Linked DNA regions of Homo sapiens: regions 1, 2, 3 and 4 are each linked to region 5. Evidence: promoter capture Hi-C in 16 types of primary human blood cells and fetal thymus (Javierre and others, 2016). All regions are on one chromosome and are shown on one strand. The core of a region is centred on a gene start or on the middle of the fragment in contact, and the rest is flanking DNA. Distances in the headings are between cores, read along the strand shown.

Evidence for each region. Contacts are between HindIII fragments. The CHiCAGO score rates a contact against its expected background, and 5 or more counts as called.
Region 1: a contact is called between a fragment that was not itself captured here and the fragment with the promoter of STX17 in region 5, in 4 of 17 cell types (M0 macrophages, M1 macrophages, M2 macrophages and 1 more). The highest score is 14.5, in M0 macrophages.
Region 2: a contact is called between a fragment that was not itself captured here and the fragment with the promoter of STX17 in region 5, in 1 of 17 cell types (fetal thymus). The highest score is 13.0, in fetal thymus.
Region 3: a fragment that was not itself captured here is called in contact with the fragment with the promoter of STX17 in region 5 in 1 of 17 cell types (M1 macrophages); the score reaches 6.1 in M1 macrophages.
Region 4: a contact is called between a fragment that was not itself captured here and the fragment with the promoter of STX17 in region 5, in 1 of 17 cell types (M0 macrophages). The highest score is 5.9, in M0 macrophages.

What each region holds. Positions count from the first base shown.
Region 1 is chr9:99,288,661-99,294,345 of GRCh38, reverse strand. No RefSeq gene overlaps it. Among named protein-coding and RNA genes, the nearest start is that of SEC61B, 69 kb to the right of the region's middle. The HindIII fragment of the contact is 1,553 bases long and covers 1,643-3,195 here.
Region 2 is chr9:100,594,596-100,600,075 of GRCh38, reverse strand. No RefSeq gene overlaps it. Among named protein-coding and RNA genes, the nearest start is that of CAVIN4, 19 kb to the right of the region's middle. RefSeq lists an enhancer at 1,035-1,329. The HindIII fragment of the contact is 747 bases long and covers 3,044-3,790 here.
Region 3 is chr9:99,324,160-99,329,673 of GRCh38, reverse strand. No RefSeq gene overlaps it. Among named protein-coding and RNA genes, the nearest start is that of NAMA, 48 kb to the left of the region's middle. The HindIII fragment of the contact is 1,355 bases long and covers 2,793-4,147 here.
Region 4 is chr9:99,359,531-99,365,059 of GRCh38, reverse strand. All of the region lies in intron 5 of NAMA (non-protein coding RNA, associated with MAP kinase pathway and growth arrest), which reads left to right. It overlaps LOC124902232 (a long non-coding RNA gene), which reads right to left. Exons shown (of 3, transcript XR_007061692.1): 1 at 5,423-5,529; 2 at 3,560-3,689. Among named protein-coding and RNA genes, the nearest start is that of NAMA, 13 kb to the left of the region's middle. The HindIII fragment of the contact is 976 bases long and covers 2,596-3,571 here.
Region 5 is chr9:99,905,402-99,911,208 of GRCh38, reverse strand. It overlaps STX17 (syntaxin 17), which reads right to left and starts at 4,555. Exons shown (of 8, transcript NM_017919.3): 1 at 4,503-4,555. It overlaps STX17-DT (STX17 divergent transcript), which reads left to right and starts at 4,608. Exons shown (of 3, transcript NR_038853.1): 1 at 4,608-4,655. RefSeq lists an enhancer at 4,017-4,256 and a silencer at 4,417-4,816. The HindIII fragment of the contact is 1,410 bases long and covers 4,315-5,724 here.

The DNA of each region.
Region 1 (5,685 bases), core at 1,170-3,669, 610 kb after region 5:
ATCAGGTCACAATAAATCAAATCTGCAGCATTTCATTCTGGGTTACCTGTAATATAGCCCTCATATTCATAAATTAATAGCCAATTATGGAGCATGAGATAAATAATCCCCAGCATCAATACATATCATCCATAATTACAAAGACAGGATCAGGTGTATCCATGCATAACACTTGGCTGGAATTCCCATTTTTAATGCAGTTATTTATTGCCACATACATATCATTTTGAGGAAAGGGTAGTTTTGTACCGTTTAATAGAAAAGACACCTACATAGATAAGAAATCCCTCTTCATAAAATGCTGTAAATTTGATAAATGAATAAAAGCATAAAATTTAGCCAGAAGTTTTCCCTTTGATGAATGGGTTTTAAAATACTTACAGTGTGTTTTTAAATGACAGAAAAGAATAGGACACCCAAATCAGATCTAGAAACCCTCAAAAAGAGATTACATTTTAGGTGAACTGTTTATAGAAAAAGCTGGCTTTCATTAACTTAAACCTCCAGGAACTGGTTCTGTGGGCTCTGGGAGGAAAGATGGTCCCGGGCAATTCCAGAAGAGGTCAGAGCATTTTGATGATCTCTTCTTTCCATAATGGACAGCAGTGTCTTAGCGTCAGAGCTAGGGGGTACAGGTTCAGAGCTGGAGGTTTTCTGTGTTCTTAATGGTGCCCAGCAACGGTGTTGACTAACCCATTAACTTAACCCACCAACCGTACTTCATTACAATACATTCAGAATTTCACTGAAAGACATATGGATTCTTCAGGAGATTCTTACTCCTTGAACCTCAATTTCTTCATCTGTACAAAAAGAATAAAAGTAGACGTTCTGTGTGCCTTTTCAGTATGGTTGTGAGGATCACATAAAGAGAACGTGAAGCAAACTATCATACCCATCATCTCACATCGTTACCCATTTGTGTGTGTGTGTGTGTGTGTGTGTGTGTGTGTGTGTGGCAAGAGCAGTGAAAATCTACTCATTTAGCAAGAATCCCATAAGTGAAAACATGGTGTAGATGGTAACACGCTATACCAGTGAGAGAGGTTTTTAGGATGGATAATGATTTTCACAGGAAGTATCTTAGTGGGATTGTTTGGGTTGGGGATCATACATTCCCAGCACTAAACATGGCATATCTGTTGGATATCAATGGGATGCAGGGTTGTACTCACTCACACTCGAATAAGGAAGGACCATTGTCACACTAACAGGGGCCGTGTGATGCCCAGGAGTCTAGATGTCTGAGCTCTCCTTCTGCACCTGCCACTCTCTTCTCCTGTATGTTTGAGCTACTTATTTCCGTGCTGTGAATCTCAGTCTTCTCATCTGAAAAAAATGGAGGTGTCGAACTAACAAATCTCTGGGGAGCTGTTCTGGCTCTAACCTAGTAATTCTGATACTACAGAATCCAGGATCCCAGTGTGTGGTGGGATCGGGGACCTGTTCAGATGGACATCCACCCTGAGGCCATCTGAGACCCTTTCTGGCTGCCCCTGCCCTGCTCATCAATGTCTCTCAGAAGATCTTCTCTAGCCTCTTGGGGGTCCTCCCTGAACAGCTCAGGAACCTCGACAGCCTCTGAGACCAGCCAAGTTAAAGGTCTTAGGACAGGGCTGAAACACCACCTCTGTCTCAAGCTTGGTGCTGTCTACCAAGAGCCTGACTGGGGGACATCAAGGCAACCTTCCCTGACTTCATCAAACAGTTCCAAAAGCCTGCAAACAGGTGCTGGCTTTTTAAGAGAAGTAATTTCTGTGGCTCTCCACTCTAGCCACATTAGTCATTCAAGTGCTGAGGGACAATATAAATTCCTGTCATCCTACTTTATGTGACCACTAAGATTTATTCCAAGCGACAGGTCATTAACGTCTCTTCTCTTTATTTTTTTTTCTCAGATTCACTGAAAATTCATATTTCTGCTTTATTACAGACTGCTAACAGCTATGTTTTTGGTCAGAAAGTCAGCAATAAATCTGAATTTAATAAACTGACAAAAGACCACTATCCCAGAGATGGTCTGAGCCCACATTCCTCCTTTCCTTCCATACAAATGCTTTCGTATTGAGATATCTTCCACATAAAAGCTACGTTCACCATCTTAATAGTCACCTTCCCCCCACCCCCTTAGATGTTTTGCAGTTTCAAGGCTGACTATATAATTATGGATTGTCAGAACCTGAAGGCCCCACAACAATCGCAGTGGGTGGGGAAAGACCTGAACTCCAGGCTCAGCCATTCCCCTGCCACGCGACCTTGGACACGAGCTAAGCCTCAGTTTCTTTATCCATAGAATGGAAATCATAGTCCTCGTCCCATCTGCCTCTCAGGGGACCATGAGGATTAGATTCAAATGAGAGCAGGATGGAAATCATGAAGCTCTATGCAATTGGGGGTCAGGGATTGTGACTGCTTTTTAGTTGTAAATGTTCAGCATGTTAGAGCCAGTACGCATGTTAGAGATTCTTCACTTTACAAAAGAACACTGAGGTAGCAGCAAGTGGACCTCTCCCCTCAGGGAACCAGATTCTCCTTTCGGGTATTTTTTCTATTACACAATAGTCTCCCCCAAATCTCACCTATTTGCTCTTGGAAAAGGGTTTAGAGGAGGGGTTCTCTGAAGTTTCCTGGAAGGCCTCGCTCTACTACAGATTGCATGGATAAGGAGGCTCTAAGAACTTTCTGGCTGGGACCAGAGTCATTATCATGTCTTTGTTTACCTCCAATCAGTTGCGAGCACCTTGAGGGAAATTCTTGCATAAAGTAGGCATTAGGGAATGACTATTTGAATGAATTCCAAATTAATCCAAGGGGACTAATGTTCTGGCTAAACTCCAGATAGCATTCTGGGTTATTGGGAGGCACCTATCCTAAGATCTGAGCATCCCTTCCAGAAGGCAGCAAGACTGTCTCTTAGAAAATGGAAAGCCTAACCCCTTCCTTCCAGGGACTTTCAGATGCACTCTAAGAACTACAACTACTCCACTCCCCAAAACTGTGGCCCAGAATGAGGACTTTTAGGAGATTAGCATGCAGACAAATACATCAAGCCTTCTATAAACTTCTACCTTCAAACTCTCTATAAACTTCTGTCTGGCTTTGTAAATAACCATATAAGAATTTTCCCAATAAACACTGGAAGCAGAAATGAATAGACATTTCCGAGGACCTGTTTCTGACTAGTTGAGCAAAGCTTATAAAAGTTATACTGTGTGCTCTGTCAGCTTTTTCACTATTTCATAACGTCATCCATAAACCCAGAATAATTCTTATTTACCAACTCTCTCACTGCATGATTTTGCAGTCTCCAGCCAAAACTTGATGCAAATGGTGAAAAAATTAATCCTATTGAGTAAAATTAGAAAGCTCTAAAATTAGGGTGGTTTAAAAAAAAAGAGAATGGGCTGCCCTGAGTAATAGCAAGTCTCCCATAACGGGAAGTATGTAAGCAGAGACTAGAAGACTATCTGCAAAATGGTCTAAAAGAGGAATTCCTAAAATTGGTGGGAAATTGGTTTAGACAACCTCCAAGTCTTTGCAAATCAGACGTTCTGGGAATTGAAGATGTTGGTTCCCCCCAAACTTTTCTGCAGGCCTAGTATCTGCCAGGCTGTGTGCTGGGAAAGGATGAAGTAGACCCAGCTCCTAGTGATGCTAAGTGAAACCCCAGTGTGATGGTTAATACTGAGTGTCAACTTGATTGGCTTGAAGGATGCAAAGTATTAATCTTGGGTATGTCTGTAAGGGTATTGCCGAAAGAGATTAACATCTGAGTCAGTGGGCTGGGAAAGGCAGACCCACCGTTAATCTGGGTGGGCACCATATAATCAGCTGCCAGCACAGCTAGAATATAAAGCAGGTAGAAAAACATGAAAAAGCTAGACTGGCCTAGCCTGCCAGCCTACATCTTCTCCCGTGCTGGATGCTTCCTGCCCTCAAACATCAGACTCCAAGTTCTACAGTTTTGGGACTTGGATTGGATGTCTCCTTGCTCCTCAACTTGCACACGGCCTGTTTTGGGACCTTGTGATCACTTGAGTTAATACTTAATAAACTCCCCTTCATATATGTATTTATTTATATATTTATATATATATGGGAGTTTAAGTATTAATAGGATTTTATATATATATCCTATTAGTTCTGTCCCTCTAGAGAACCCTGACTAATACAGCCAGTTTAGTGAGAAGACAGACAAGCCAGCAGCTAACTCCAGTGCAAGGCAGAATGGTGTACATGTTGGAAAGAGGTGACCAACAGCCAGCTATGAGTTTGAGGGATAGTTGTGATGAAGAACCACCCAGAACTGGAGGAAGTCCCCATAGCCTGCTTCCTTGAGTTAGAGGGCTCTGGTTATGGGGAAATGGTCTATATATAATAATACTTTTTATTGAGCATTTATTAGGTGCCAGACACTTAGCCCACTTGTCAGTTAATAGGCATAACAGTCCAAGGTAGGTACTACTGTTTTCCCCTATTTTACATATGAAGAAATCAAGGATAGAGAGGGCAAGTAATGTGCCCAAGGTCACATGCCCTAATACGAGGTCAGCCCTAATGTGAAGCTAGGCAGTCTACTTCCAGCCATTGCTCCTAATGAGGCTGCTATTCTCAATGCCTCTAGAAGAACAATGAAAGGTTTGGACCAGGCTGTCTATAATGCCTGGCCTCCCGAAACACCAGGAATGTCCAGTACTACCCCTCCAGGATGGGGCTGAGAGGAAAGCAGGAGTTCCTGGACCAGGTGAATGCAGCATCCATATTAACTTCATGCTCCCAAGTATGGATTCCTGAGCCTTGAACTCCACGGTATCTCTGAGAAGCCTTCTCACACACAGCTTCACCTTCCTAAAGCTCCCCATGAATCCAGAACAGAAGAGGAAAGCCTCGTTCTAAGATGCCCACATCCACATAGATTTTTCCGTAAACTCCCTCGACTTTCAGCTGGAATTAGATCTGGTTTCTGAAATCCAGACCATGAAGGGGTGGGGCGAAGTTCTGGGAGGGCCAAGCTGGGAGTGCCTGGTACACACAGGGAAACTGCTTCCATTGACCTGGACAGGCGCTGGGACAAAGTAAGAAGACAGGTGAACTACAAAGCCATCAGGTAGCCCTCAGTCCAAAGTCAATGATGAGACTGCAGCCTCACGACGTGTGGGGGCTTTACAGTGTCAATTTAGTGAAGCTGGAGTTGTGTTTCTTAGAATTCCCTTTTCTGGTTCGTGCCAGGTCAGCTTTGGCCACAAGTACACTTTGCAAGAGATTCAGAACAAGGAAAGGCAGCAGCAGCCACATTCTTGTTATGTTCAGAGGCCAGGGCAGGGCACAAGCCCTCACAGACATTGTCACATATCTTCTGGGTGGTGTGGGCCAGCATTGGGAACTGCGGCCCCCCCGAAGCCCACCAGCTCCTGCAGACGCTCTTGTTTCAGCTCCCCTGATCCCTGGGCCAGTTCAGCATTTTGTTTTTGTTCCATAAGAAAATGCATAACTTCTGTAAATCATCCCCCTCATCAAAGTTGGAGTCTTGGGTGAAGTGAGATACCAGTGTGGATTCCACCCCATTCCCTGAGTTCCAGCCGATCCATTTTAACCTCAGTTCTCCACTTCCTGTCCATCATTTCTTCCCCACTTCTGTATCTGATGCTGACTTCAGGCCCCAGCACCAGACACAGAAATAATGGC
Region 2 (5,480 bases), core at 2,168-4,667, 690 kb before region 5:
TTAGAATTGAGTTCTGCTGGTTGGTGGAACCAGGATTTCGACAAATCTGAATGTAGGGGTAGTCGTGGTTTCTAAGAGTTGAGTAAGCTCTTTTGTTCCATGAAAGTGTTGCCTGCTTGTAGGTTGGTTTGCATAATGCTGCAGTACCAAACTAAAATTCTTCTCATTTGGAAGTGTGAATCCATATCTCAGAATCAGTAGTGAAACAGACCATCCTGGTGGATTTGCAAAGCAGGACTTGGCTAAAACCTTGAATTCATTATCTGTCCATAAAGAAGATATGAGGTCAAAGAATAGAGATGGGAAGAGAGGTCAAGTGAGGATCCTTTGGAGAGATCTGCTGAACCCGCAACCAAAGGAGGTGGTGTGAGGGGCCTGCTTCTAACCTCAAGCTTACCAAAGAGGGCCTCTGAGGGACCACTCAGGGAGCTTGCAGTCCAAGGGATGCAGTGCACTGCTGTTTGATTCCCATCCAAGAAATCTGGAGGCACAATGGTGCCTTTCAGGTGTGGCAAATTCTGAAGGCTGATTTTTTTTTTCTTGTGGAGCCCTTTCAAAGTTTCCTCAAGCAATGCCTCCCCTCCAGCGGACTCCTGACGACAACCCCCTCAACTTACGCATCTGACAGTGAGGCCCCAATCCCCTTCTGCTGAGCTCTCACCTTCGAGAGGAAGTGTCTTAAGGAGAATTTTTTTCCAAGTAGCCAACTCCCTACCACTGACCCGCTTGGCCCAGGAAAAACTCAGTCATCATTGCCCTCTTGTCATCATATGGACAATTTGTTCGTAAGTCTAATTCAACCAACGAGACAGAAACTGCAAAGCTTAAACAGCTCAGTCGCCAGCCATAAATAAAACAGTGCCAGGAGAGAATAATTTTTCAACTATAAGGAGACCAAGACAAGGGAATAATTTACATTTCTGGTTTGCGTGAGTGGAGCTGCGAAAATAGCCCATCATATGTACATCACTATATTTTAACAAATTTCCTATTGGTAGACGGCTAGACTGCGACAGGAATTAACAGGAATTCCTACAAAACAAACCGGACTCAAGCCGGGCGCTGAACCTGGATGCTGACGGAGACGGGAAGAGAACACCCGCCCCGCAGACCTCGGCGCCTGCGCCGGCTCTGCACCGGCTCTCCGCGGCGCGCATGCGTTACGCCATTAGCGCTTTTCATGTGGCTCCTCCCCGGCCCCGGCGCGCTTACTGCGGGAAATGCAAAATTCCCTCCTCCTGCCCGCGGAGCCGGTTTCAAGAGAGCGAGCGGTGGGTTCTGGAACCACCCTGTCCTGCCGGAAGCGTACGCTCCCCCGCCTACCTGGGGACTGGGCGGGGCTCCAGGGAGAGAGGCCAGGCCTCCGCAGCCCCACCAGCTCCGGCCAGGTGCGTGGTATTCGAGAGTAGATTTGTTGTGAGGGTTAAAGTACTTAAAGTTCCTTGCCTTAAATAAAGAGCATAATAAATTGTGGCTGTTGTTACCTGCTTCCGTCACTTCTGGCGCCTGAGATTTGGTTCTTCCTCTCCAGGATTAATTTTGTTTGCTCAGTCTTCTTCCACCTGCTCAAGAATTTTAACCAGTTGCCACACCTGCGGCCTTCGCTTTACCCCTTCTTGGCTGGGCCTTCTCCTTCAGCTCATCTCCCCCATCATTTACAAATACCCTCCTGTTTTCTGTGCTCTGTCCCTACCTACCTCTCCTGTCCCCATCTCATGAGCGTTATCAAAGGTTATCACATTTGTCTCTTCTCCTCCCACCCCATCTCCCCAACTCACTGGAATCTGGCTGCTTCTACCCACTCCACTCAAACTGCTCTCAGCAAGGTCCTCAGCGACCTTGTCATGCACCCCAATGAACACTTTTCCATGCTGCTCTCTCTGCAGCTCCTGACACATCTATCTGAAACTGCTGCAAATCCCTCTGTCATCCACAATGCTCACACTCCCGGTTTTCCAAACTCTCTGATCACTATATTTGCCAGAAGTGTGTCTTCCTTCCCCTGCCCATTTCTGTTGGCTCCCACACACATGCTTCCTGGTTAGTTGTTTTTTTTTCACACTCCACACTTTTATGGGGTGAAGATCTCCTTAATGCCATTGTTTTTGCCTTGCTGATGACTCCCAAATCTGTACCTCTAGTCTAGATCTTTCCTCTGAGCTTCAAACTCCTGGCTATCCCACAGGCACCTCAGACTTAGCACCCCCAAAACATATCTTTTCCAGCAAACCTGCTTCAACTTCTGTACACTTTCTTCTTTGTCCCTCTTCTCACTGGATAACATCATGTGCTGTCTCAAGCCAGAAATCCAGGAGCCACCTTAGACTCCTCCCTCTCCATCATGCCCAGCTGTGGGCTGGCTTCCCTAGGAAACAGACTCAGAGATATTGTAGGTGGCTTATTGAGTGATGCTCTCATGAACAGCACCTGTGAGGGCTGAAGGATGAAGGACAGAGACAAGGAGTTGAACACTTAGTGAGGTTTAAACCGGGGCCTCAGCCAATGCTATGGCAAGCTCTGGACCCAGGAAGGTCCTTCAGAGCTGTTCCACGCTGAAGCCAGAAGCCACACACATATCCCTCAGTCAACCCGTCACTCAATGTGGGCTGCTCTCAGGAGGGGGCATGACCTTGGGTGAGGTGGCTTTCTCTGCTGAGGGCAATTCCTGGAGACAGACTTGGGCGAGAGCCATCAGCCGTCAAAACTCCCAGCATCTGGAGGGATGAGTGCCAAGTCTTAGAGGGAATGTGATTGTCACCATAGAACCCACTACATCCCTCATACTCGGTCACCAAGTGTTTTATCTATTTCTACATTTTAACTTTCAAATAAAATCCCTCCCTTTTCAGACTACTCTATCTGAGGCACCATGGCAGGGACAGAGCAATGGGCTGAGCAGACACGGTGCCAGTGCTCAAGAGGTTTACAATCTAGCTGAGTGAATAACCACCTAAATATATATTTTTAAACTACAATAAGTGTTCTTATTGTGTAACAGGGGAGGCTTTCCCTGTCAGGGAGTGACGTAGAGGCAGGGAAAGCTTTCCTGAAGAAGTATCATTTTCAATGGAATCTGAAAGATGAATAGAAGTTAACTAGGTGTATTCTTAGTTGGTTGGGAGGGGAGTGGGAAGAGTGTGGACAGGCAAATGGAATTGCCTATGCAAAGGTCCTAAGACAGGTGGGATAAGGCATTGGAGGACCTGAGAGGCCAGTCTCTGGAATGCAGAAACTGAGGAGGAAGAATAAGAGATGAGGATGAAGTTAGGCACGCAGGAGCCAGATCTTGCAGAGCTCATATTTGAGCCTTTTTTTCCTAAAAGTTATGAAAGCCACTGGATGATTGTGATCTCTGTGTAGTAAAAATGCTATGTCTTAGTTAAGCAGAATATGCAACTGCCCACAATCAAAGTCGATAAAATGGATCATATACATCTACAAAATGGTTTCAAGTTAAATTCTGTTAATGTTAAATGCTAGGGGCAAAAAAAAAAATGCAATGCAGATACCACTATTACAATAGCCTCCTTCTCTATCTCTAGAGGCTACTTGTAGTCCCTCTAAACAATAACACCTATTTTTGACTGCTTACTAAATGCTAAGTTTGCTAAGTGCTTTCCATAAAATATCTGGCTTAATATAACACCTTTAGGTGGGTACTATTTAGAAACTGGGTTCAGATAATATAATTTGCCCAAGTTCTCACAGTCAGTAAATGGCAGACACAAGCCAATTTTCCAGTTATAAAGCTAAAGCTCTTGATTGTACATTGAAATACCCCACCTAAGCTTTTGGAAACACTCAACTTCACAACTTTCAGTATCTCCATGCTGCCTTCAACTTCATTCCACCATGCCCTTCGCAGTAGACTCCCTTTGTAAATCAATGCCAACCTGATGCAAGCACAGGTTTGGAATACACACACCCTTAACACCATACAACAAACCACAGCTACCTTTTGAGGGCCACCACTAGAACCAGGACACTTTCTCCTGGCTCATCCCACCTGATACTTTTTCTCCTCCTTACCAACCCATGATTTTGATGCTCTAATCTCTGGCAGCTGAACCCAGTTCTAATTAATACATGCTAATATATGCTAGATAAATGTAAATTTACCTGAATAAGAGCCAAAGAAAAACAGAGGCAAATCCACTATAGTATTCTACTAATCATCCAGTTTGTCATTTTCTATGTTAAACCTCCCCCTCTATTCTTAATCAACAGTGGATAGGTTCCAAACTGCCTGTGCATAAACAATTATGAAAATATCCACTAGATGTCAGCCTTGAGCTGCAGTGAGGCTTGGGGAGCGGACATGGAATGGAAAACTCTTGGGAGTTTGGGTGATTTCCTTTGCAGTGTAAACTAAGGCAGGAACTGTAGTTAGCTTTTTGTATGAACACAATGGCTGGATTTTTTCAATGAGTATAAATACAATAAATTGGATCATGTCGTTCTTATTAACACGTTCCCATGGGTCCCCTTCTTATTCAGAGTAAAACCCAAAGTCCTTAGAACAGCCTGTGACACCCCACTGCTCCCACATTTCCCACCTCACCCATTTCAACCACACTGTCTCCTGAACACAACTGAAACTCTTCCTAGAAACACCTGAATGATTGACTATCAGATTCAAACATTCTGGTCACCTTACCAGAGGCCTTCCCAGACACCCTTTCTAAAATAGTGGCAGCCTGCACCACCCCCACTCATAATGCCCTGCCCCCTTACCTGACTTCTTCTTCACAGCACTTATCACCACCTAACATAACTATATTTGCTAGTTACTAGTCTTTCTCTGGAATCTCTGAAAGCAAGGGCTCTGTTCACTACTTTACTCCCAGAAGAGTGCCAGGCTTACATGAGGTGCTCAAAAAAATACTCATCAAATAAATGATCCTAATTCAAAGATATTCAGAGAAGAGGCCATAGTTCAAAGAGGCATTCATTTGTTTTCATTCAGTAGATACTTATTAAATACCTATTATCTTATTAATGAGAAACACAGTAAGTCCTTTGCACTTACAGAATCTCAGAGAGAATGCACACACAATTTTAAAAGGCTTTACAAAGAGAGAGATATTTGGGCCAGGTGTGGTGGTTCATGACTGTAATCTCAGCACTTTGGGAGGCCAAGGAGGGAGGATTGCTTGAGCTCAGGAATGTGAGACCAGCCTGGGCAACATAGTGGACCTCATCTCTATTAAAAATAAAGAAAAAAAAAATAGCCAGGCATGGTGGGCATGTGCCTGTGGTCCCAGCGGTCCCAGCTACTTGGGAGGCTGAGGTGGGAGGATCACTTGAGCTTAGGAGATGGAAGCTATAGTGAGCTATGATTGCACCATTGCAATCCAGCCTGGGCAACAGAGCAAGCCCCGCCTTAAAAAAAAAAAAAAAAAAAAAAAAAAAGCCGGGCACGGTAGCTCATGCCTGTAATCCCAGCACTTTGGAAGGCCAAGGAGGGCGGATTACGAGGT
Region 3 (5,514 bases), core at 2,221-4,720, 580 kb after region 5:
ATTCTGGGTTCATAATTTTTACCAAAAAAGACCCTACTGCTTCTTGAGAAATAGATATGTGTGACATATATCTTCTATATATATTTATGTTCCTTTCTGACCTATTTCCACATGTTTGAGATTGCTAATTAGCTATCTTATTTTCATGTTTATTATTATTACTTTTTAATTGTTAAAAAAAATCTCTCAGTAGCATAATCTTGTTAATACTTCTGTGTCTGCCTTCTGGCATGGGGGATTTTAGGTGCTACAGACTTTTTTTTTTTTTTTTTTGAGATAGAATCTTGCTCAGTTGCCCAGGCAGGAGTGCAATGGCGTGATCTCGGCTCACTGCAACCTCTGCCTCCCGGGTTCAAGAAATTCAACCATCTCAGCCTCCCAAGTAGCTGGGATTACAGGCACCCGCCATTGTGCCCGGCTAATTTTTGTATTTTTAGTAGAGATGGAGTATCACCATGTTGGCCAGGTTGGTCTTGAACTCCTGACCTCAGGTGATCTGCCCACCTCGGCCTCCCAAAGTGCTGGGATTACAGGCATGAGCCACCACGGCTGGCCCAGATATTTTTAATGAATTATTTTAATTTCTCTGGTTGCGAAAATAGTATGCATTTTTAGCTTATTTTATGTGAACATCATCTTTTGGTGATTAATTCTTAATCTATTATTAGCTTTTTCTCTTTCCTTGTTGTTATCCCATTTGTTCTTTTCATTAAAACTTCATTGTTGTCTGCCTTTTGGCAGAGACATTTTAGCTTTGCATATTCTAAGTAGGTAATATTATCTAATGTTATTTCTTACATACTTAAATACTGCATAAATTTATTACCTCTAAGCAATTGGACCAATATTGTTGTCTTCTTCTTCTTTTTTTTTTTTTTTTGATACCTATTGTCTTAAGCTTGATGTTGAAACCCTCTGTTAACTTATAATGATAGTTTCACTATTTGCTACTTAATTTGCTTGCTTCTCAGAGTATTTCCCTGGCTTGGGAATTTAATGGATTAGTTGCCTCCTGGGTCTATTATTAAAGTGATTTTTTTAATCCGTTGATGATGAGGATTTTCAACTTGATTTTATACACTCTACTATAATGATGATAACAACAATAATAGCAACAATAATAAATTTGAGTGTTTATTATGGTTCTGGCTCTGTACTAAACGCTCTGCAGACATCACCTCAATTAATCTTCCTAAAATAAGTATTATTAGTCCATTTACTATATGACAATACTAAGCCAGACACTAAGTGGCAGAGTGTGATTCAAACCCAGGTCTTTCCAACTCCGAAGCCTGTGTCTGCTATATTTCACATTAGCCTCATGTGACCCGGTGGCTTTTCAATAACACTGAAAATTAGGCTGAGCCCATCCTCTCTGCTTTTGACTTCATTTTTTGTGACTTTCTCTTTATTCAGTTTTGCCATATAAAACCCAACATTTGCTGGGCATGGTGGCTCATGCCTGTAATCCCAGAACTTTGGGAGGCTGAGGCAGGAGGATCACTTGAGCCCAGGAGTTCAAGACCACCCTAGGCAACATAGTGAGACCCCGTCTCCAAAAAAAAAAGAAAAAAGAAAAATAAAAAAAAATAAAACCCAACATTTCTTTCTAGCCAATAATATAAAAAAACTAGTAGGAATCTTATGGCAAGAATTAAAATGAAAATTCAGAGTTTCCAGTTATACTTGAGCTATATTTTAAAATCCACACAATGTATTGACTTCCTTGAGTTTAAAATTATTTCGAAATTTCTTAGCATACATACTTGGCTTGGCTTTGAATGCTTCTCTGTGCTGTTTGGCATGTAGGTGCCTGTAGATTTAGTTAACCATGGAGAGAGTTGCTGTTTGTCATTGTTTTGATGGAAGCTCTTATTCTGCCTTCTGGAAGCAAAGGAGAATGGGACAAGAACTTGATGTAACATGTGTCCCAACCCCTGGTCTTGCACCACACACACGCCCCCAAATAAAAAAGCGATGTTCTCAGAGGACCATCTGGAAATGGTGGCCCTGCTCACCTGGGGCCTCAGTCTCCTGGGAGAGGCCACCCACATCTGCATCCACATGTTGACTTTCCCTTTGCTCCTGTGCAGCCTGCTGCTAGCCAGAGCCTGTATTTCTGTAGAGAAAGCCTCTTCCTGGTCTTCTTGGTAAACAGAGAGGCTCCCCATGGCTGAGCATTGGACTATTAGTTTGGCTAAATTCCATCATCTTGGTTTAGGTCAGTTGTCCCACCCTGTCCAATGGTTTAGCCATGACTCTTTCTTTTGTTTCATCTTTCAAACTCTAAAACACACCTTTTTACCTCTTCACCTAGACTTTATTTACAATCATTAACAGGTCCAAAGATGGAGTTTGGAGTCATAGAAAAATTTTCCCTACAGGTTTACCCTGAGTAATGAACAGGTTATGGATTCAGTTGTGCTTTAGGAAAAGCATCCAGCTCTCAAAAAATTATCTAGATGACTTGCTGATGCCAAGATATAGAGATTTGGCAGCTCCTCTCTGCCAGTCCACAAAAACAAAAAGAAACAATATTTATTTGCTAAGGCTTAATAGAACCAGCTAACCCAGGAACCACAAGTGTGGATTCATATAGATCATCATGCCTGGTAACCGGTGCTAGAAGTTTTTCAGGATTGCTTGCGTGTCATTTAGAGAGGTGACATGGTATACTGGAGCCACCGGAGAGAGTTTTAATTGTATTTGACTATGTCTCCACATCAACATATGTGGGTTTAATTCCTAGATCCTCACCAACTGTCATAAAGTTTTTTTTATAAACCTAAGCTTCCTCTATTATAAAGTGTGGAAAATATGACTCACCTCCTAGGGTTCTTATGCACCAGATAGCTTACCCCACGGAAAGTTTACAGTGCCCAGTTTTCTGGAACTGACCCTTCATCACTTTCCATTTTTTAATTTCTTACTTCCTTTTTTATATTGTTAAAACTTCATGTTCTTTCACTTTTCAAATGTACATGATCTTTTATAGCGTGTAGTTTTTCAGGGAGATTTGACTCTCCAATGACTCAGAATCACTGAGCCCACCTCCCTGCACTTTTCTAGTACACTAAGGTGAAACGTAATTAGGCTGGGAGACTTGAATCCACTCCCCTCTCTTCCTTGGTCTCAGGTTTCCAATCCCTTCTAATTACATTTGCCTGATCCTTTCCAGTTGACATCTCCTTCTCAAAGGAGACTTTGGACACAGAATGGAAAGGAGTAGTTTTGTTGTCTCTCTTTTACCTAGAGTTGTGGACCATCTGACATTTATCCCAATCCCAGCAGCTATGGGGACATCACAGTAGGATTTCCCATGCAGCCTGCTAATCTCCTTCCCCAAGAAAGGTGGCGCATGCCCTAGTCAACCTTAGTCTTGGCTGTTAGGCCACTGGGTTTACAGGAATGGAGGCCTCTAAAGGAACAGGTGCACTCAAACTCTCCACCCATCTACAGCCATCTCCTTGCTTTGCTCCAAGAGAAGTGGATTCCGAGCTGCAAGCTCAGATTCCAGGGCCCTGACTGGGCTATGTGTACCTGTGGGAAAGGCCCTGAGTAATTCACAATCATGCCTATTGGCGTGTGGCTCACCCCCTCTATTTGTTCTTTTTCATGAACTTGGTGATGAGAGCACCAGAGTCTTCTTCATGGGAGGAGATATGATCCTGCAGTTCACTCTCTCTTTCTGATGAGTGTTATTTGGCCTCTGCCATGGTCTGAATGTTTCTGTGATCTGAATTCATGTGTTGAAATCCTAACTCCCAAGGCGATGGTATTAGGAAGGGGCCTCTGAAAGGTGATTAGGTCATGGGGGTAGGGTCCTCATGAATGAGATTGGTGTCTTATAAAAGAGGTCCCGGAAAGACCCTCACTCCTTCCACCACATAAAGACACAGTAAGAAGGCACAATCTATGAACCAGGAAACAGGTCATCACTAGACATGAAATCTACTGGCACCTTGTGCCTTTTAGCCTCCAGAACTGTGAGATATAAATTTCTATTGTTGATAAACCACCCAGTTTATAGTTTTTGGTTATAGCAGCCTGAACAGGCTAAGACAGCCTCTGACCTCCTGAGGCTGATGCAGACTGGTCATATGACTTGAGTTTAGCCCTCACCATTGAGAGAAGCCCCCCTTAAGCTTTGGGCCTCGGTCACACTCTCAGCCAAGTTTACCAGAGCTTTACTTTACAGTTTGGGCACAAGCTCAGCAAGAATATGCTGCTTTGGTATGCCATAGTCCCTCAGGTATACCTCTTTGGGGACCTCTTAAGATGGAGTGGTGAGCAATATTCAGCCATTTCTGGGTCTTCTGGACATGAGACATGCCAGCACCCCTTCTGGCACTTAGCTGAAGACAGCCTTTGTGGTTTTTTTCTGTTCGTTTTAGCAAATCTCAGATTCAGTAGGGTTGTATCCTCTATGGCATGACCTTCTAAATCTCTGCTGTTGTCTTATTTTTGGCTGTTTCAGAGTTTCTGCTTCCATCTGTGTTCAAAAGCCTTGTAAAATATGTGTTTGTCAAGAAAGACCTCAGGGCCACTATACTAATATTAGAGGCTACTACTATTAGAAGAGTTCAAGCAGAAAGAATCACCATCCACCATTAACCTTTAACCTTCTTGGTTTCTCTTCCCTCTGCGTGTATCTCTCAATATGTCTATGTATCCCTGTGTCTGTCACTCTCTCCCATCCAACAATTCTGCTTGGACCATTTTTACCACCATTGCTTCTGGTCCTCCTAGCTCTTCCAGCTGAAAAGCAATTCTCTTTCCCTGTAATTCATATAAGACATCAGCCTTCTCACAACTCCTTCAACTCAACAAGCTCCTTCCTGCCTCAGGAACTTTGCACATGCTGCTCCTCATCTGGAACCTCTCTGCCCTCTGCCTCCATCCGCAACATCATTTCCCCAGTGCAGCCTGACTCTTCCTCTAGCTTCTCTCTCCTTGCATCCTTCAGGTCTCAGTTTGCATATCATTTCCTTAAAAGGGCTTTTCTGACCAGACCTCCCCTCCCCTAGTCCAAGCTATATCCCCCAAGCCCTTCTCAATCATATCACTTCTTTTCCTTTGTACCATCAATCACATTTCTAATTATAAGCATATATATGTCTGTTGGTTTCATACCTTCCTCTCCCACTTAGACTCTAAGCTCCATTAAGGGAGGCGCTTACTTGCCATTGCAACCCCATACCCAGCCCAGGGCATATAAAGCTTGCAATACATATTTAATTGAATGGATAAATTAACGATCAAATGCTGAACATTTTAGGGTCATTTTCCCTAGAAAAAAAGAAAAGTAATAATAAATTGTAAAATGCAGCACCTGAAGAATTTCAAGGATTTGAAACATGTATATTTACTAACATTTGAGCCCAATTAGCTTGACTGTGTTGTCACATAGGGGAAACTAGCACTAGGATGCCAACCATCTCAGTTTGGGACTGTCACAGTTTTAGCACTGAAAGTCCTGCATCCCTGGAAACCCACAATCCCAGGCAAACCAGG
Region 4 (5,529 bases), core at 1,834-4,333, 540 kb after region 5:
GGCATCCTGTATTTTATCTGGTAGCCTGGCCCTTGACCACGCCTGTGTTTGTCTCTCTCCCTGCTCCTATCCTGCTTCCTTTCCTCTCTCCCTTGCAGGTTTTTCCTGAAGAACACTCCCCCAGTAAATCACGTGTACCTAAATCCTTGCCTCAGGCTCTGCTTCTAGGGAATCTGATCTAAGACTGTCATTTGTCCCTCTCTGCTGTCTAAGGTGGCCAGAGAAGTCCTTTCATTTCCCCTGAACCTTGCAGAAACTCTTTTTGTTCAGACTTCGCCTGGTCCACCTTGGCTAGAGTGAAGGAAATCATGACACCAATTGTCACCAGCTGAGTCCCCCACGTCCTCACAACAGCCCTGAGTGGTGGCTACAATTCTTAGATCCATTTTTAGATGAGGAAACTGAGGCAAGAGAGATGCAATAGCTTACCTGGCTGCACAGAAAGTGGCAGAGCCTCAATACAGAACCATATTTCCTGCCTCTTAGACTCCTGCTTCATAGGTGCCTCCCAGGGAATTCAGGAGAGACACAAAAGCAAGGCTTTAGCTTTGCTTATCTACCCCCTCCTGGCCCCTGCAGCATTTGGACTTCAAGTTTTGACCTTGTCTCTTGGATGGGGGCCCTAGGATGGGGCCATTCTAGGTAAGCTCTCTGGGTGACCCAGGGGGCTAGCCACTAACTTCACATTTGTGAAGAACTGGCTTCCCAGAAACCACAGGAAAATGGGGGTATCCAGAAATCCATGTGGCCACAGCCCCCTTTAGGAAAACTCTATTTTCATTGATCCATGACAGATCTAGGTTCGTGGCTTAGGGTCTGAGCTTTGATTTAACCAGGAACATGAGAACTAGATTGACTTCTGGGGACCATCCAGCTATGGCCCAGTGGGATTTGAAGTTTCCATAGACCTGACATTCATGTTTAGTTAAGTACTTAACCTGGTACCTGGCACAAGGTAGAGCTCACCTAACAGTGGCTGTAAGTAGTAGTATTTCTTATAAGCAATAGTAATAAGAACATCTGATTCCCCAGATAACATGAGAGTGATAAGAATATGTCCTGCAGTGCACTCAACTAAACAGACTTCAGCTCAAAGCCATCCAAAGATGGAATGAGTTGCCTCAGAAGGCAGTGAGCTTTCTGTCACTCACAGGAAAGAAAAGGGAAGGAATTTGTTTATCTACCTGCCAGTGGGAGATAATTTCCATCCGTTACTTCTTTTAATCAAATGCTGAGATGTTCCAGAAAAGGCTGGATGATAGCTTGTGATGGTGTGCCAGCTTCTGAGGGGCTGAACAAGAAACATGGAGAAGTCCTCCCAGACCTGAGACTCCAGGAGTCTTAGAAAATGCTGACATCCCACATTTATGATAAGACCAGTGGCCACTCTCGTGTCCAGAAATCTGGCAAATTGTTCCAGAATAATGTCACAGGCTCCAGCCCTACACTTTTCAGAACTGTCCACACACTCAGACCAATTAGAGACCTGGCTTGTGCCCCTGAGTTGGGGGGCGGGGATAGACACTTACCTATGGGCCCTCAAAATCCTCCTGACCCGCAAGTTCCCCAGCATGGGAGACTGCACCAGGCCCTCTTTCTTCCTGTCTGTCACCACACTGTGCCTCCCCTCTTCTTGAGCAGCTCAGCTCAGCCACGGACTGAGTCAGGCATGCTCAGTTGCCAGCCCTACGGCAGCCCGGCTGAAGGAAATGGCTTTCTGCTCCCCCTCCCACAGCTGTCAAAAGGATACCCCAGAGTCCTCATTACACACACACACACACACACACACACACACACACACACACACGCCCTTACGGAATCTTTGCCCACAATCACAAAATCACAGGGCTGAAAGAGACGGCAAGTACCTAGCAGATTTGTTAAGTCCAGGCCTGTCAAGAACTTCCCTACCAGAAGCCTCCATCCACACACCTTCACAGTGGAGAGCTCACCCCCAGCTGGTGTCACCCTTCCCAGCGGTGAACTCTTTGGCCATTAGAAGGTGCTTCTCGTATCCAGGTGCCAGGCATCCAGGTATCAGGTGACTTCTTCTGGCTTCCTCTCATTGGTCCTAGTGTTTTCAGGAATAGCACAAGAGTCCAATCTTGTTGGAAGGTGTTGTACAAAGAGGTGCAAGAAGATACATGGGAGGAAGTAGTGAGAGATGAAGTCAGAGATAGTGAGAAACGTCAGAGAGAGAACTGGCAGGGATGTACACAGTCTAAAAGGGACTTGTATCCTGCATGCTGACAATTTTTCCATTGTGCTTTTTTTTAAAATTCTGTTGCTCTTCAGCTGTGTGGAAAACATGTCCACCCCAAATAACTTACTCTCTGAGAACTGCAGAAAAAACAAAAGTATTGTATTACCTATTGCACTGATGAGAAAAGGGTGATCAGGAAGGGAGAAGACTCAAAACTGTGTCACATGGAAAAGAGTTGAAAGAACTGGGTCTCTAGCCAGAAGAAGGGATTTGGCTGGTAAAGTGGTTGCCTCTGACAATCCTTCCTGGGGAAAAAGGATTGCACCAATTCTAAACAGAACAAAGAATTGGACTTAGGACCAAAGGGTAAACCACCAGAGTGACCAAAAGCTTTCTACTAGACAGAGCTGTCTAACAGTTGTTAAGATGGTGAGAAGTCCCTGTCACTGAAGGTGTCCAAGCAGTGGGGGCACTTGATATTTTGTGTCTGACAGTTCATGAGTTTTCTTTTAATGCATGCACATCACCACCACCACCCCTAACACACACACACACACACACACACACACACACACTGAAGCCTGGCTGTATAAAGGCAGGTGAGGCACACCAGTGTGGGGCGTGCATCTCTCACTTGGCTTAGCTTTGGTCCCCCAGAGATTTTCCCATTGCAGACTTGCTTGTCAGCAAGAAATAAAAGCCTTTCCTCTCTCCTTGGGAGGAGCAGAGCAGATTGTCTGGATCTGCTGCGTACTGCCCTGGCTCTGGTCTCAGCACAAACGCGTTCCTTCTGCTCAGTCTGTTCCCGTTTTGACAATGCAGAGGGGAGAGCTGGAGAAAGTCCCGCAGCCCAGAGTCCTGGCAGTGGAGGGCGGGGCTTTGCTGTTGGACCCGACGGATCACATTTGTATTCAAGAAAGACTAGGTGGAGCCCCTTGCTCCCAACACAGGCAGAAAGGTTGGCTGGGATTGGTGCCCATCCTCAGGCATCTTTTGAAGAGAAAGTGCTACCTGCTGCTATCCTTTCAGTGTTTTCTCAAAGGCAGAGCCTGAAAAAGGTTTTCGCAGGAGGAAACTTCTCTAAACCTCTCTAGCATCCTGGAGATTAAAATAAGTTATTTTTTTCTCTGCAAAAGAGATGAGGTGCTCTGATACCTGAGGGTGGAGTACTGGACCCTTTACATGATTAAGATCCAGAAAATATGCTTTTTGCCTACAGCATTGTATGTCCCGTGACCAGCCAGTAGTGATCCATTAAACAATGTTACTCAAGGTGGATTCACTAAGCACCCACTCTGTGCTAGGCCATACTTCCCAGGCACTGGGGAGCAAAGGTGAGAAAGATCCAGGACTTACCCTCAAGAAGCTTATAGTCCAGTGGGAGAGACCATCACAAGCAAAAAGAAAAATTAAATCCATGCACTCAGGGCTCCAGGAGAACTTTGCTGTGAGTGCACTAGCTGTCCGGGAGCATCTGGGGTGGCGTCTGCAAGGAAGGGATGCTTCGGATGAGTTTTCAAGGATACACAGGATTTTATGAAGTGGCAAAGGCAGGAGTGGGAAGGGATCTGTGCATGCAAAGTTCTGGGAAAGATGTGGAAAAGTTTTGTTTATTTAAGGAACTATGAGAACTTTGACGTGACCAGAGGAGCTACCATGCAGGCAGGGAAGTGCAAAGGATGAATCTAGAGCAGAGGTTTTAACCAGGGACAGTTTTGTACCCCAGGGACACTTGTTTGTCACAAAGAGAGGAGCAGCAGTGCTACTAACATCTATAGCGCAGAGGCCAGGAATGCTGCTAAACATCCTACCATACTACCGTGTGGACAGCTCCCACAACACCATGATCTGGTCCACAACGTCAATACTGCTGAGACAGAGAAACCCTGAGCATGGTAGGGTGTTTAGGAGTATCCCTGGCCTCTCTGCCCACTACAGAGAAGCAGCAGCCACACCACGAAAAAATGGAGTTCTGTTAGGGGCACTGTGCTTTCTGAGGGTCACACAGAGAAGGCATCCAGGGGAAGGAAGCCAGGGGAGAGTTGAGCTTTCAGATTCTGCAATCTGGAGTCCTCTATAGCTGTGTTTCAGCTAGCCCTCCCAGCTTTATTTTCTGTACATGTTTGATAAGCCTGCATCCAGTATCTGCCTCCAAATTGTTGACAAAAATGTTAAATGCAAAAATTTCAGGGCAAATAATGACTTAGACTCAAATAATGCCATTCAGTTTATGGGCATTTTGCATCCTTCATCTCATTTATATTCATTTTACAAAACAGAAAAATGAAGCTGGGAGATGTTCTGCAATCTAGGAATTATTTAACTATAACACGTTCAGCTCCCATCTCTTCTCCTAGGCTGGTCCCTGAGTGCTCCAAGGACCCATGCATCTGACCATAGGGGATGCTGGGAGTATCCTCCATCCTGGCCTGAAAGAGCTCCCTTTCAGCTTCCTGGATTCATATCTGTGTGAGTGGCTAAGGGCAGGTTCCCTGGTCTCCCTCTGCCCCTAGCTGTGACACTCACATACCCGTCTGACTACAGGGGACTCTCTCCCTCCCTGAGGCTGAATTGGTAAGAGGACCTCTCATGGATAGCAGGCAGGGACAGCTGCTCAGCTCATGTTTTCTGGCCAAGAAGCATTACTGACCCTGTGATTTGGCACTTCATCCAAACTGGCAGATGGGTACAGGTGCCTTGCCGTGATGCTGCTTCCTCTCCACCAAGCATGCCTGACCATTAAATCACCCAGCAGAGGACAGCACCAGTCAGCTGAGGGGTGGGCTCTTTTCAAGTGGAACCCCAAAATACTGCTAATCTGAAATGTCACTGTTCTCAGGGACAGCACGAATGAACCATGCCAAGTCACACACTGCAGAAACACTCTCAATAATCAACACTAGGTGTTCTAACAGTTTGTTCAAGCCTGTTCATCTGTGGTTTAGAAGTTTATAACATGACAATCTTTTACTCCAATAGCTTTCTGAAAACTGACTTCCCATATTCCCAAAGCCATCGCCAGCTCCCAGCTTTGTCATTCAGGAAAAAGAGTATGCACCTCCCCTTCATCCTCCTCATCTCTCACCATCATTAAGTACAAGCCCAAGGAGAAGAATCAAGGGCAATGAATCTTCATCAAACAATAAAATCCTGCCTGGTACCAGACCTACCTGTGCCATCCAAGCACTGCCTGCCCTGTCCCTCCATTAAACATCTTACCCTTGCTGCTGGTGGCTCCCGGGGCACTGTCCTTTCCGTGGCTCCTCCTCCCACCGGCATGGCCCAGCGGCTCTCTCCTGCTGCTCTGGCTCCGTCCCTCTCCAATA
Region 5 (5,807 bases), core at 3,306-5,805:
AAAAAATTAGCCAGGCGTGGTGGCATGCACCTGTATTCCCAGCTGCTCCGGAGGCTGAGGCAGGAGAATCGCTTGAACCCAGGAGGCGGAGGTTGCGGTGAACCCAGATCTCACCACTGCACTCCAGCTTGGGCAACAGAGCGAGACTCCGTCTAGGGAGAAAAAAAAAAAAAAGAATGAAATCCTGTCATTTACAACAACATGGATGGAACATCTAGCCTGTACTCCCAGCTACTCAGGAAGCCGAGGTAGGAGGATCACTTGAGCCCAGAAATTAGAAGCCAGCCTGGGCAATATAATGAGACCTCCATTTCTAAATAAAAAGGGGGAAAAAAGTTGATCTCCTGGAGGTAGAGAGTAGAGTGATGGGAAGGGGCAGGAGGGGTGAAGAGAAGTTGATTAATGGGTACAAACATACAGTTAGATAGAAGGAATACATTATTCATGTTTAATAACACAGTGAGGTAGCTATAGTTAACAATAATTTATTGCATATTTCAAAATAGCTAGAAGATCTGAAGTGCTCCTAACACAAAGAAATAATAAATGTTTGACATGATATATATCCCAAATACCCTGATTTGATCATTACACATTGTATGTATGTATCAAAACATCACATGTATCCTATAAATATGTAAAATTATTGTGTATTAATTGAAAAAAGTAACATAAAAATAAAAAATAAATATCTAGAAATAGAATTATTAGGTAGACAGATTTTTCAAGGTTTTTAAAACATATATATAGCCATATCCCACAAAAGGTTATGCCTATTATGTTCCTACCAGAAACATAACACAATGTCCATTTATCCATATTCCAAGCAATATACTTAGTATTATCATTCTTAGACATGTCATTGGTGAAAAAAATGATGTCTCATTATTGCTTTACTTTGCATTCCTTAAATTACTAACAGGGTGGATTTATCAGCCATTTGCATTTCTTTTTTTTTTTTCTTTTTTTTTGTTTTGAGACGGAGTCTCACTCTTTTGCCCAGGCTGGAGTGAAGTGGTGCGATCTCAGCTCACTGCAACCTCCGCCCCTTAGGTTCAAGTGACTCTCCTGCCTCAGCCTCCCAAGTAGCTGGGATTACAGGCACGTGCCACCACGCCCAGCTAATTTTTGTATTTTTAGTAGAGACGGGGTTTCACCATGTTGGCCAGGCTGGTCTCGAACTCCCGACCTCAGGTGATCCACCTGCCTCGGCCTCCCAAAGTGCTAGGATTACAAGTGTGAGGCACCATGCCCAGCTGCATTTCTTCTTTTTTTAATTTTTAATTTTTGTGGGTATATATTAGTAGTAGGTATATATTTATGGGATATTTGAGTTATTTTGATACAGGCATACAATGTGTAATAATCACATTAGGGTAAATGAGGTATCCATCACCTCAAGCATTTATTCTTTGTGTTGCAAACAATCCAGTTATACTCTTTTAGTTATTTTTAAATATACAATTGAATTATTATAGTCACCCTGTTCGGCTATCAAGTACTATATTTTATTCATCCTCTATCACTATTTTTTTGTACTCATTGCATTTCTTCTTTCATGAATTGCCTGTTCATGTCATATGCATCTGTTTTTACTACAGGGGATGTCTTTCTCTTATTAACTCATAAAAGGCTATTACATGTTAAATGTATCAATTATTTGTCTAACATTAACATTTCCCAATCTATCACACTGCCTCTTTTCTTTTCTTCTATACCACAAAGAGATTATCTTTATATCTACCATCATTCCTATCAAAATGTTTTTTGAACACACCTGTTGTTCAATAGATGCTGCCTGAACTAAAATATTTCTTCACACGTCCCTTCTATACAATTGCTAATCCTATCACTCTAGTCAAATAGCACAATATGCATAGCCATGATAATGGAGCTTCAATTAGTCTACCTTTAGACTCTTTCCCTCCAAAATGGAATATAAACTATAAAAACATAAACTGTATTATAAACGAATAGCATAACCACACTGAAAGAAGTGAGGAAGAAAAATTATCTAAGCCACTTTAGAAAACAATATTTTAACTGAATACTATAAGCCTAGAGACAAAAAGAACTACACTGTACTCTATTTAGTAAATGTGTTTCTCACAGGAACATAGGTCAGAAATCCTGAAATTACTTTATGTGTATACTAGGACTGAAGAAATAAGAAAATATTTTGTAGAATGCCAAGAGTCAGATTTCTCACTGTCAGATAAAAAGTTAAAAATAAGGGACAAAACTAGAATGAACCCTGTGGTGTTAGACTAGAAGCAAAGCTACTGGGATGAACTTTTGTTTTTAAAAAGTATATGGATAGACAAATACAGAAATAAACATAGATCTTTGTGTATGCATGGGTATGCATATGTATAGACTGGTGTCTTCTGTGGGGCCCTGGAAGCAATGTTACCCCAGTAGCAATGAGCATCCCTAGAGCACAGATCTTTGTGTTTAAATACTATTCTCCAAAAAAAGAAACTACGGGTCGTTGGAGAAGTGGCTGACTATCAGGGCTGAGGCACAGAAAACACAAGATGAGCCTGGGGCATCCTATGGTACCAGAAAATTAGGAAGTTCCAAAAAAGAAAAAAAAGGATGGAAGCATGCTGAAAAGCTACAGAAAGCAACCTGAAAGAAAACTCCCAATGATCAAAGCTGGAACAATTTCAAACATAAAATAACACAAGTGTAGGATAACAACCAATAGAAAAACATCTAAGTCCACATGGATACAAATAAATAACGGAATACAAATAAACAAATGGGAAATGGGCAGCTCATCCTTACAGAATAATTTCAATTAATAAAGAAATGAGGAAAGTAGAAAATCATCATTAGAACACCATAGTCATAATAATTGCTGAAGGCAAGATCCACCAATGGATGTGAAATTTAGCAAGGGAAAGTCTGAGGAGAAACAGGATATGCGTACGGTTTAAAAGCTCCCCCCCAAGATGTCAATTATAAGGAGAAAAATAAGACCTTTACATTGGAGAATCCCAGCAGACACTCTCTACCAAGTGATCAAGATTAACCTCACGAGCAATAAGTCATATATATCAGCTATGCTCATATGATGAACTGAGAAGGGCACACACACTTTTGTGTTCTTAACAAAAATGTATAACCTTAATCTAATCATGAGAGAACACTGGACAAACCCCATTTGAGGGGCACTCTACAAAATAACTGACCAGCATTCTTCAAAAGTGTAAAGATCAGAAAGAGTATAAAGACAGAAAAAGACTATCAGTGTAAAGACAGGAAAAGACAGAGGAACTGTCACAGACTGGAGGAGACCAAGGACCCAAGACAACTAACTGCAATGTCGGGTCTTAGAGTGGATCCTAGAATAGAAAAAGGACATTAATACAGGAAAAAAAATCACAAGTTAGTAATTCAGTTAATAGTATTATACTAATATTAACTTCTTGCTTTTGATAATTGCGCTATGGTATGTAAAAAATTATTAATGGAGGCAATAGGGAACTCTGTATTACTTTTGAAACTTTTCTGTAATTTTAAAATTATTTCAAAATAAAAAAGTTTTTTAGTATAAGAGGATGTTTCACGTAAGACAGGTAAAAACATTTAGAAGTCAAAGAACTGCCATCGTATTCACTGCATTAATACTTGGAGAGAGGGGTGCCAGGACTGTGCCAGGTGCTTTACAAACTTTATCATGTAGTGCTTACAACTAATATGAGATGGGTACCATAATACTCATGTTTCCCAGTAAGTTACTTAGGAGGTTATTAATAAGTGAAAGACCCCATTTCTCAGGAAACCCAGCCCCCAAAAGTGACGAACACCTTCCATCGGCCCAGAGCTCCCACTTTTCAGGATACTAGTGGCGCCCGATTTCTTCCGGCCCGCCGCTTAATGTTTCTGACTTATGGAAGAGATACCGAATTTGGAGAGAAAAGTCAAAGTAAAGTCTCCTCTCTGAACCTCGGTTAGCTAAAAGGAGGGAGCCAAGGTGTGGGACCTTCTGCCAACCACCTCTGGGTTTGGCGAGCAGGGGCTTCCGGCCTCTCGCTCCCAGTCCTCCGAGCCTCACTACCATCGAGCGTCGCGTCATTCCTCGCAGTGTCACCCACAGCACACCTGGGCCACACACACCAAACGCCCCCACCAGCGAACGGATGCGCGGGTCTGTCCCGGGACCCAGACGCCAGCGACCCTGGCGACCCGGGGCCTACAGCGCGCCAGAGACAGGACGCGCGCCGGAAACTTTTCCACCCCGCGACCCCGGGAGGCCGTCCTGCTCGCATCGTCTGCGGCCTCCCTATACCAGCTTCCAATAAAGCTTCCAAAAACGAAACCAAGCGAGGCTCCGCCACTTCTGAAAAACAGGAGGAGCCACCATGGCGCTCGCACTTCGGATCCAATGCCCTACTTGCCGCCCAGCGCCTCTTGCGCGCGCCACACGGGCGCCAGGCCCACCAAGCCTGTGAGGGCCCGACGCCCCCAAAGGCGGCCTCCAGAGAGCCCCTTACCTCCCGCCGGGGCGCTCGAGGCCGGTCGGTGGGCACGGCGCAGGCGCAGGAGCGACGGGGCGGGGCATCACGAGGGGTGGGCAGGGTTGGGCCCCGCCCCCGCCCCCGCCCCCGCCCCGCAGGGCCCCCAGGCCGGGCGCTGGGGGCGCACAGGTGAGTACAAATGCGGACGCTGCTGAGAACAGCGAAAGCCTTTTTCAAAAGTGATATTGATTTACGTTATGGGGTTGTGACTCGAGCCAAGAGGAGAGAGACGCACAAACGCTCTTTAGGTCTGCTTGTTGTGTTTAAGACAATTCATGCTTGTATGGCCGACTGCATTTCGCAGTTTTCCTGTCCGTTTTCCTCTGTTCTTCCTAGAATTTTATTTGCGGGTTGGGCATGTATTCTTAGCTCTGTTTTGAAACTGAAGCTCAGAAAGGTGGTGCCTCCCCATCCCGTCCCCAAAAGCCCTGTGAAGTGGACAGGGCAGGAGTGCCATCTTAATTGCAACAGGTGTAAAAATTAAAGCTCAGCAAATTGTGGTTTCCTCCAAAAACTGGTGGAGGGCTTAAGGCAAACGTCTTTATCCCGATTTTATAGATTATGACTCTGGGGTTTAACAAAGAGTTTTAAGTGACTCACTCCAGTTCAGCCAGCTTATGGCAGAGCTGGAACTCCAACTGGGTGTCCTAATTTCCTTCCCAAGTTATTCCAGTTAGACCAGCTGCAACCACATGAACAAGCAGGTGGCCGGCTTTGAAGCCTTGTCCAAGTCACAGGTCCTCCTCTCTTCATGGCCTAACTTCCAGATCCAGCCCTTTTAAAAAGATGTCTGTGAATATTCAGATGACGTGCTTAGAATGTATTCACTAATGGCATTGTCTCAGAAGTGATCAGGATGTTCAAACCACAGTTAAGGAAACTGAGTTCTTAGGGTCTTCCAGTAGAGTAGGAGGTAAACAGGGAAGATTAGGGGCCTGTAGATCCTTTAAAAAGCCTTGAAAGACAATTTCTAAAACAAAGCACCAAATCTACCAAGCAATTTGGATTTTCTTTGGGGACATAATGTATACTGATATTTGTTTTACAATGAGCTCCAGAATGTATTTATCAAATTTTGATTCTAAGGAGAAAAATTAAAGTATTAGGCAATACTGTGAGAAAATGTTTTTTATGCAAGGATCAGTGAAATAAGATCTTTTGAAATAAAAGATCATTTGTGTTAAGTTCTGAAAAAGCTTCCTCAGGTACAAAATCAGGAGGTGTGGTACTCAAAGATTCTAAATTTGGACCTGGACTTCTAAGTTGTTATATGTATGTTTG